2 separate regions of the Homo sapiens genome follow, and region 1 is linked to region 2. Evidence: promoter capture Hi-C in 16 types of primary human blood cells and fetal thymus (Javierre and others, 2016). All regions are on one chromosome and are shown on one strand. Each heading gives the region's core, a stretch centred on a gene start or on the middle of the fragment in contact. The rest is flanking DNA. Distances are from core to core; before and after follow the strand shown. Region 1 has its middle 2.5 kb from the start of SRSF6. Region 2 holds the start of NCOA5 (nuclear receptor coactivator 5).

What was found. Contacts are between HindIII fragments. The CHiCAGO score rates a contact against its expected background, and 5 or more counts as called.
Region 1: a contact is called between a fragment that was not itself captured here and the fragment with the promoter of NCOA5 in region 2, in 5 of 17 cell types (non-activated CD4 T cells, naive CD8 T cells, naive CD4 T cells and 2 more). The highest score is 9.7, in non-activated CD4 T cells.

Annotation. Positions count from the first base shown.
Region 1 is chr20:43,452,915-43,457,889 of GRCh38, forward strand. No RefSeq gene overlaps it. Among named protein-coding and RNA genes, the nearest start is that of SRSF6, 2.5 kb to the right of the region's middle. RefSeq lists enhancers at 4,319-4,638, 4,699-4,858, 4,780-4,975. The HindIII fragment of the contact is 271 bases long and covers 3,591-3,861 here.
Region 2 is chr20:46,086,043-46,091,214 of GRCh38, forward strand. NCOA5 (nuclear receptor coactivator 5) reads right to left here and starts at 3,920. Exons shown (of 8, transcript NM_020967.3): 1 at 3,775-3,920. RefSeq lists enhancers at 2,392-3,206, 3,144-3,353, 3,207-4,020, 4,034-4,083 and a silencer at 3,524-3,873. The HindIII fragment of the contact is 2,710 bases long and covers 2,500-5,172 here.

The DNA of each region.
Region 1 (4,975 bases), core at 2,476-4,975, 2.6 Mb before region 2:
TTTTGACACGTAGTCTCGTTCTGTCGCCCAGGCTGGAGTGCAGTAGTGCAATCTCTGCTCACTGCGACCTCCACCTCCCGGGTTTAAGCGATTCTCAGTCTCCCGAGCAGCTGGGATTACAGGCCTGCACCACCACACACGGCTAATTTTTGTGTTTTTAGTGGAGACAGGGTTTCACCATTTTGGCCAGGCTGGTCTCGAACTCCTGACCTCAAGTGATCTGCCCACCTCGTCCTCCCAAAGTGTTGGGATTACAGGCGTTAGCCACTGTGCCTGGCCTTTTTTCATTTTTTGTAGACTTGCTATATTGCCCAGGCTGGTCTTGAACTCCTGGCCTCCAGAGATCCTCCCACCTCATCCTCCCAAAGCGCTAGGATTACAAGCACAAGTCCCTGCACCCAGCTTCCATTCCTAAATTTAACAAAATTTCAGAGTCCCTGTGGTAGTGTGTGTGGAATTGGTTCCTTCCGGTGGGTTCTTGGTCTTGCTGACTTCAAGAATGAAGCCGCGGACCCTCGCAGTGAGTGTTACAGTTCTTAAAGATGGTGTGTCCGGAGTTTCTCCTTCAGATGTTCAGATGTGTCCCGAGTTCCTTCCTTCCAGTGGGTTCGTGGTCTTAAGCTGCAGACCTTCTGCAGTGAGTGTTACAGCTCTTAAAGGTAGTGCGGACCCAAAGAGTGGGCAGCAGCAAGATTTATATGTGCATGTATACATAAATATGTATAGAGAGAGGCTTAAGTCCATGGAATGTAGTTAGGGAAAGGAGAATTTGACAATGATAACATTTGTTACTCATCAAACTCTCATTTTTAAAAAATTTATTAAAATTATTTGCAAGAGTTGAAGCAGGAAATGACACTCTTACGGTATTGGTGGGACTGGACATTGCTTTGGGGAGTTAGTGGGATAGTATTTATTGAAGGATAGGGAATTCGTTTGTCAAAGAGAAAGATGCAGCTGATATCATCCACTCTTCCTCTCACTTCTCTTTCCCAAAGCCCAGTGGCTACCCCTAACAAAAAACCCAAGAGCACTGCTGCGGAAGAGAAAACAGTTTCAAATATCATAATTGAGAGAGGTGCTGGATTGTCACCATTCTGTGGAGTCTTCCTGAGGACCCAACTCTGCTGATGTGTTGGGAGAACAACTCAAAGGAGAAATGGTAGATGTGCAGCATGGGAGCTCATATCTTTTCTTATTTCTTTCTTTCCTTTCTCTCCTTTCTTTTTTAGACAAGAGTCTTGCTCTGTCACCCAGGCTGGAGTGAAGTGGAGCCATCATACCTCACTGCAGCCTTGACCTCCAGGGCTCAAGTGATCCTCCCACCTCAGTCCCTGGAGTAGCTGGGACTACAAGTATACGCCGCCAGTACTGGCCTTTTTTTTTTTTAAGAGATGGAGTCTTGCTATGTTGTTCAGGCTGGTCTTGTGCTCCTGGGATCAAGTGATCCCATCTCTGCCTCTCAAGGTGATGGGATTACAGGTGTGAGCCACGGTGCCCGGCAAATCCCCTCTCGTAGCAACTCAGGTGTATTTGTATGGAGTGGAGTGAATATAGCAGTAGTTGCTCCAGGAACAGAATCCAGAATTGGAAACTGTCAGTGACAGAGTTAGAAAGAATCATGAATCAGATGACTGAAAGATCCTCTGAGGCTCTTCCAACTGGGAGATTGGATTGCATGTTGCCAAGCTAGTCCAAACTTCGTTTTAAAAACTTCCATAGGCTGGGCATGGTGGCTCATGCCTGTAATCCCAGCACTTTGGGAGGATGAGGCTTGAACTCCTTGAGCCCAGGAGATCAAGATCAGCCTGGGTAACATAGGGAGACCCTGCCTCTATTTAAAAAAGAAAAGAAAAAAACTTCTGTACAGGATTCATTTGGAATAGCACTTCTCAACCTCAGCTATTGACATTGGGGACCAGATAATCCTTCGTGGTGGGGCTGTCCTGTGCCTTGCAGGATGTTTCGTGGCATCCCTGGCCTCTACCCATGAGATACGAGCAGCTCCTTCCCTCCTCCAGCTGTGACAACCAGAAAGTCTTCAGATATTGACAGATGTCCGCAGGGGGGACAGAACTACCCCCTGTTGAGAACCACTGCCCCCTGTTGAGAGCCTTCCCAATAGCTGTGACTATAGGCATGTGCCACCATGCCCAGCTAATTTTTTAAAAAAAAAGTTTTTTGTAGAGATGGGATCTTGCCATGTTGCCCAGGTTGATATCGAACTCCTGGGCTCAAGCAATCCTCTCACCTGGGCCTCCCAAAGTGCTGGGATTACAGGCGTGAGCTACTACGCCTTGCTCCTTGCTTTTCTTTATTTCATTGAGTCAGTGTCTTGCTTTGTCATCCAGGCTGCAGTGCAGTGGCATGATCATAGCTTACTGCAGCCTCGAACTCCTGGGCTCAAGAGATCTTCCTGCCTCAGCTTCCCAAGGTGCAGGGATTACAGAATCATATTTTTTATCTGACTTTAAGCACGGTCTCTATCTCCCCCAGTCGTGACAAACAACGTTTCCCTCCAGACTGCCAAATAGCTCCAGGAGGGCAAACCCCGCCCCCCCTTTTCAACCCGAAGCGGAAGGATATTGAGGTTGCACCACTCAAAACAGAGCAGGAATACAAAAATATCCAAAGAGCTGGTGTTGGGCTTGGCACAATGGCTCACGCCTATAATCCCAGCACTTTGGGAGGCAGAGACGGGTGGATCACCTCAGGTTGGGAGTTCGAAACGAGACCAGCCTAACATGGTGAAACCCCGTCTCTACTAAAAATACAAAATTAGCTGGGCGTGGTGGTGCATGCCTGTAATCCCAGCTACTCGGGAGGCTGAGGCAGGAGAATCACTTGAACCCAGGAGGCGGAGGTTGCAGTGAGCCGAGATGGCACAGGTGTGAGCCACAGAGCCTGGCCTGGGCTGCGTTCTTTCAGGAGGCTCTGGGGCGAATCTGTTCCCTCGTGTCTTCCAGCTTCCAGAGGCTACTGGCACCCTTTGGCTTATGGTTCCTTCCTCCATCTTCAAAGCCATTAACTTCGGTTGTGACTTTCTTACAGCCAATCACTCTGACCCCAATCCCAGCCTCCTTTGTCACATCTGCTTCTCTGACTGTGGCTCTCCTGTCCCCCTCTTGTAATCACCCTTATGATCACATGGGGCCCACCTGGACAATCCCGGGGCATCTCTGCATCTCAAGATGCTCAACTTAATCAGATCTGCAAAGTCCCTTTTGACATACAAGGTAACATCTTCACAGGTTTCAGGGATTAGGATTAGGATTAGGACATAGACATCTTTAGGGGGAACCCTTATTCTGCCTACCGAGGTGAAGAGGTGAAGCCGGCTGGGCTTCTGGGTTGGGTGGGGACTTGGAGAACTTTCCCGTCTAGCTAAAGGATTGAAAACACACCAATCAGTGCTCTCTGTCTAGCTAAAGGTTTGTAAACACACCAATCAGCACTCTGTAAAAACGGACCAATCAACATTCTGTAAAATGGACCAATCAGCAGGATGTAGGCAGGGCCAAATAAGGGACTAAAAACTGGCGGTCCAGCCAGCAGTGGCAACCCGCTCGGGTCCCCTTCCACGCTGCGGAAGCTTTGTTCTTTCCTTCAGGCAGGTTGGAGTCTTGCTTTGTCACCCAGGCTGGAGTGCAGTGGCATGATCATAGCTCACTGCAGCCTCGAACACCTGGGCTCAAGAGATCCTCTTGCCTCAGCTTCCCAAGGTGTGGGGATTACAGACTCGTATTTTTTATTTATCTAACTTTAAGCACGGCCTCTACCTCCCCCAGTCGTGACAAACAACGTTTCCCTCTAGACTTCCAAATAGCTCCAGGAGGACAAAACCCCCCTTTTTCAACCCGAAGCTTAAGGATATTGAGGTTGCACCACTCAAAACAGAGCAGGAATACATAAATATCTAAAGAGCTGGTGTTATCTCAGTGATATCCCTTTTTTTTTTTTTTTTTTTTTTTAGCTTCGGCGGTGACACCTACTCTCCTGGTCTTCTCCCTACCTCGCTAGTCACTCCTCCCAGTCTCCTTTCCTGCGCTTAAATTTCAGAGTACCCCAGGCGTTGGCCTGGGTCTTCCGCTCTCCACTTAAACTTACTCCTTTGAGGTTTTCAATCTGGTTCTACAGCTTTAAATAGCATCTCCATTGATAAACTCACAAAATAAGGCACTTTCAAGTCAGTGGAGGAAATGATAGTATTGGGACAAAGGACTTTCCATACACGGGAGAAAAAAAATCGTTCGTCGCTGTGGGAGGGCTGCCGGGTCTCGTCCACGCTCCCTTTTGAGCACCTACAGTGAGCGTAGGATTGCCACGGATAGCCCAATCCACAAGTGAGTCAAGCTGCCAGGGCTCCAAGAAAGACCCATGGAGGGAGAGGGGAACGTCCGGGGAGGCGAAGGCTGCGAGTGAGACCCGGAGAGGCTGATGTCGGCGGGTCTGCGCGCTCGCAACGCGACCTCCGCCCGGTCAGCAAGACCTCGGCGCGCGATCCTCAGATTCTGCGAAACAAGACAAGCGACTGGGTCCGAGACCGCGGTCCCCATCAAAACGAGCATCAACCAATCGCTGGGAGAAATCCGCAGCCTCGTTTTAAGCCACCAAGCAGAGACCGCGGCGACCTATTATGATAACCTCGAGAACCAATGAAAAACGGGGATTCGCTCAGCCCGCCTCCCGAGCTTCAACCCCGAAGAGATCGCGCACAGTTTTATAAAAGGTACAAATTAGAAAGCAGTTCTGCGGCTGGATTAGAGACATTGTGTTTTCAAAGACGGTGGGGAGGGCTAGAGAAAAATCCTAGAAGCTAGCAAGACCGCACTACACCGAAACGTCGCGGGCAACGGACTCGCCAGTCACCATCTAGCCCAGGGACGACGCGGGACGGACGTGCCGCTGCGCGCTGACATCACGCTCCAGGCCCCGCCCCACCGGCCGCCCATATAGCGAAAGCCTGGCGCGCGCG
Region 2 (5,172 bases), core at 2,670-5,169:
CCTGGCTAATTTTTTTTGTAGAGACAGGATCTCACCATGTTGCCCAGGTTGGTCTCAAACTTCTATCAAAAGGGATCTTCCCACTTCAGCCTCCCCAAACGCTGGGATTACAGGTGTGAGCCACTGTACCCAGCCTTAAGATACTTTACAGAGCTAAAGGTATAAGACAAGACACTCTGTTTTCTAATGCAACTTAAGCTGCCCTGATCCTTGCCTAAAGTTGTCTGGTCTTTACATAGGATGTCTGGAAAAGTTCTGATTCTTATGAGGTGAACTATTTCCTTAACATAAAATTGGTCCAGATGACCTATTATCTCTTTTTTTAAGTGAAAGGATAAAGAATGAAGATGACCATTCCCATAAATATTCATATCTGGTGGTAACAAAACCACCATTTAAAAAGCAGCATGCATGCTGGTATTATATATTTAGCTGTCAATATACTTCATATTTCTCTAATGTACTGCTGCTTGAGACAGTGGCTTTACCCTGATCCTGTCATTAATGACTCTCATTAATGAGAGTAACATAAAGGATAATTCTGTTAGTCATTGCTCTTTTAACTTTTTGACAGTTTAACTCTGCTTAAGCAGAATGGTCTAAACAAATATATGTGCTATTCACAGGACAACTATTTTTGCACAAAAAAGCTGATATTGAGCTTTAAAAGCAGCTGTCTTAAAGATATGCAGTAATCATTAATAAACCACAAGGTACAGAGAGGAAATACAGCGTAGTAGAAAGAGTAGTCAGTTCTGAGGAACACTATTACTTCAAAATATTCATGAGAGGATAGCAGGAGAAAGGCATCATGATAACTTCCTCTCTCAGATATTGACATTGCACATATTTAGCACATAAATGCCTCTGAGAAGTTTTGGAGTAAGGACACCACTATATCTCAACATTTCCCAATTTTGCTTGACCCTGAAATCAATTATCTCCAATGATGTCTTGAATATGTTCTACTAATTATGTGATCTGGGGCAAGAAATCTAACCTCTTTGAGTCATCATTTCCCTATAAATAAAAAAGATCAAACTAGTTTATCAGTCTCATAAGATGACGGGCAGGAGCAATGATTTAGTATTTACCATATGCACTACTGGCTGTATGTTATTATCATTACTACACTAAGAGTAACAGTGACTTCAGGAATAGACGTTTCATTCTTCACGTGGGGAGTCAAAAACAAGAGAACAACCTAAACTGAAGGGAAGAAAAAGTTTAATATATTTCTTGTGAAGATTTTCCATTCTTAAAAGCACAACTAAATTTTATTAATCCTCACAGTAGTAAAACATTACACAAAGGCACTGCCATCTGCAGGTCATAAACATGGACTGCTTGCAATGATTATTTAAAATGAAGTTTCAAACCAATAAATCTTTTCTCATCAGACTACGAAAGTCTTTCCAAAAATTGTTTATTCTGGTTGGACGCGGTGGCTCATGCCTGTAATCCCAGCACTTTCGGAGGCAGAGGCGGGCAGATCACCTGAGGTTGGGAGTTCGAGACTAGCCTGACCAACATGGAGAAACCCCGTCTCCACTAAAAATATACAAAATTAGCCGGGCGTGGTGGCGCACGCCTGTAATCCCAGCTACTTAGGAGACTGAGGCAGGAGAATTGCTTGAACCCGGGGGCCAAGATCGCACCACTGCACTCCAGCCTGGGCAACAAGAGTGAAGCTCTGTCTCAGAAAAAACAAAAACAAAACCAAAACAAACAAGTTGTTTTTTCTTAGCTCTCAAGCACTGGTAGATGAGTTTCCATTTGCTGAAGTTCTGAAACGGACGCCGGGCTTAAATCAAATTCTCAGAAATGTGAAGAAAATGACCTTAGCCTTACGTAAATTCTACATTGTGATCATACCAAGGTAACCCCAAAGAAACATGTTTTTAACAGGGGGAGAGATACATACACACACACACATATATATACATATACATATATATATATTTTTTTACACAGCCTTTGAGGGGAGGGGAAGAAAACTTGAATAAGCCTGAACTGACTTATGGGACTTTCCTGTCAATGATTTAAATTAAATCTGCTCTTACATTCACATAAACAGATCTTATGAACACACTATTAACTTACAAGTAAGTTAATCTGTCAATGCCTCCTTTAAACTTGTGGTGTTCACAGGTATGCAACATTGAGCAAACTGAATCTAGAAAAACTCCTTCCAATGAGCCTTGCAATATGGATTCGCTGGGACATTCTACAAGGAAAATCAGTGTTTCTAAGTTTTAGGTTAAGAGAAGTGTCAGAGGTTTCAAAGGCAATCTGAAGAGTGACAGATGAGCTCAAAGAAAGGCAAAGAAATCACAATAAAGGAAGAAATGGATGTTAACAAATAGCCAAGTGATTTCTAATATCCACAATGCAAAGCATGGGCTTTACTGGTTGCAAAAAGTAGACACAAAGTTAGTTTTCACACCCAGACTGACTCATAGAGAAAACATTAAATTAAGAGTTGTCAAAACTCACAAAAGCTTCCCCAGCATTTGTAGAAACATCTTTTTATGAGCCAACAGGGGGCTACGACATCACAACGCTGTAAGAAAATTCAGGCACACCGGGTGCACCTGAGTGAACACAGTTCTTGCAGTTCCCTGGGACTAACACTTTTAAGTCAACAAAGAGAACAGTTTACAAGAAAGCTGTTACATTATCCCTGAAGAGCCCAGGGCATTCATAGAATCTGCTTTGCCTCAGGAAAAATTCTGTGCACAGAGTGCAAGCCAGAAGAACCACAATTAATCAGCTACTCCTCGGGCAGCGTTTCCCAAAGTGTGGAACGCAGAATAATTTCAGGAGGAACAAGGACGCACTGTTTATTTCAACAGACAGATATTTATTTTTTTTATAAGCATTAGAAAAATAACTGGCTTTCCAGTACCCGGTTTGTGATTGAAGTTGCCGCCTTAAATATATTTAAGGAGAAAAAAAGAGTCAGTTTGAATTTTTTAAAAAATGTAACATTTGGTAAATAGCAGTACAGATGGTCCACGGACATAAAGGTGCAACGCGAGACTGAAACGTGTGCAACGCCGTCCTAAGAGAAGCCCCTCGCCCGCTGGCGGGGAGCGGACAGTGCCCCGCGCCGGGAGCTTGGAAAGCCGGCCGGATCGGACGCTGGCGCTGAGCTACGTGGTAAACCCGGGAACAGTTCCTCTCCCCGTTCTCTGGGCCCGAGGTCCGCGCCTACAAAACGCGTGGGGTGTCACACCACAAGGAGACACCCCGAGAATGCGGTCAGGGGCCGCGAGACGGTGGCGGGGGACAGCGCTCAGTACACCGCTCGGCGCTGCACGCCTGGAGAACGCCCGGTGCCACGGGACGCCTTGGGCCCGGTTCGAATCCCGACTGCGCCACTGACTCGCTGAGGACCCGCGGGCGAGCGACTCCACCGTTTCGACAGGGGGTGCGGGATGTGCGGCTCAACCAGAGAAGCCTTGAGGACTCCTAGTGACCGACCGTTCGTGCACAGACAGGCGGCTGCGATGCGACGCCGCCGACCTGCGTCCACCACAGAGAACCGTAGGCCGCCTCGGCCGGCCGGGCCTGGGCCTGACGGGAGCCGGAGGCGGCCGCGCCCCGCACCGGGCATGCGCAGCACCGCGCGCACCCGGAGAGGAGCCGAGACCGTGGCCGCGCGTCGAGTGGGCCTTCCCGCCTCAGCCTCCCCGTCCGGCCAGGCCCCCCACAACGGCCTGCCCGTCAGCCCCACGCCTCGGCTGACGGCCAGCGCTTCCCGGCACTCACCGCTACCAGCGCGGCGGGCTCCCGGCCGCTCCTTCGCCTCAGGCCCGCCGCTGCCGCCTCCGCGTCGGCCCACCTGCCCGCCGTAGGACAAAGGCGCCACCAACCGACCGGCGCGGGCACGAGGCAATGGCGGCCGGGCGGAGAGTGGAGATGGGGGCAGAGGGCGCGCACGTAGCGGCAGGCGCGGCACTGTCGCAAGACCGCGCGTGTTTACGGCAGGGCTGAGTTGGGGCGTCGATCTCCTTGGCAATGAGGGCCCGGGAAGTGGCTCTCGGGCGGGAGTTGAGAACGCAGGGAGTTGCCTAGCAACAGCGTCCTAGGCTGAGGATGGGCCCCACGGTGGTCGCCTCAGCCCCCGCCCCAGAGTACTTTTTTTCTGTTTTCAGAGCACATTCCCTCCTCCCTAACTGTGGGAACAGAACATTCAAATCCCCAAATACCTTGATTTAGTCTTGCATAAAACTGAAAGCAAAAACCCCAAATCCCTATACACGTGTGTATTGGAGAATATATATAGTCCTGTAACCTCCGGACCACAAGGAACAAAGAGAGCAGAAAGGTGGAGAAAATGTTGTATTTAAATTTACATTTAAATAGGCTCTGTACTCTATTAGTTTCACTGACAAGCGGCAAAAGGTTTCTGGAGATATAGTCACAGGTTCTTCTTGAGTTATTTATTCTTGGAATATTCGTTCAACGTCAAAAATTTCCCGGAATGTAACTGTTGACCGTGAAGCCTGTAAAATGTTGTACTGTTCATTTCATGTATAGAATACATTTGTCACAGGGAATGGGATTTGCTCACACAATAGTAAATGCACTCTATTAATCACAGCCATAGCTATATTAATCAGGTACTCTTTTATTAGTGTTGGAAACGCCTCAGACTCCATGGGGTCTAGTTCTTCTCCTTGCGAATATTGCCTACTAAGAAAAAATGGTGCCTGCGGAATTTAAACACTACAAGAAGCCAGATTTCTTTGACATCTACCCCTATGCTCACTCCACTCATTTATTCACTGAATGTTTATTACATACCTACTATGTAGCCCTATACTTATTATATGCCTGCTTGTTAGGCGCTGTTATGAGCAAATGCAGACCCTTTTCTGCTATCTTTGAGATTACAGTCTGGTGAAAGCATTAGACGAATAATCACACTTGAGTGTGTAATTGCAAACTGAGATAAACGCTGTGATGGAAAGAAATAGGGATTCTCAATGGTTGTAACTAGAACTTTAGTTTACTCACAGGCAAAGTGGGTTATTCCAATTCCCACTTTATAAGACTGTATGAAATTAGAAATGAAGACATAAAGTCTGTCAAATAATGGATACCCAACAAATGTTCATTCTTATTCCTTTCCCTCCAATATAGATCCTAATACTATGAAAATTT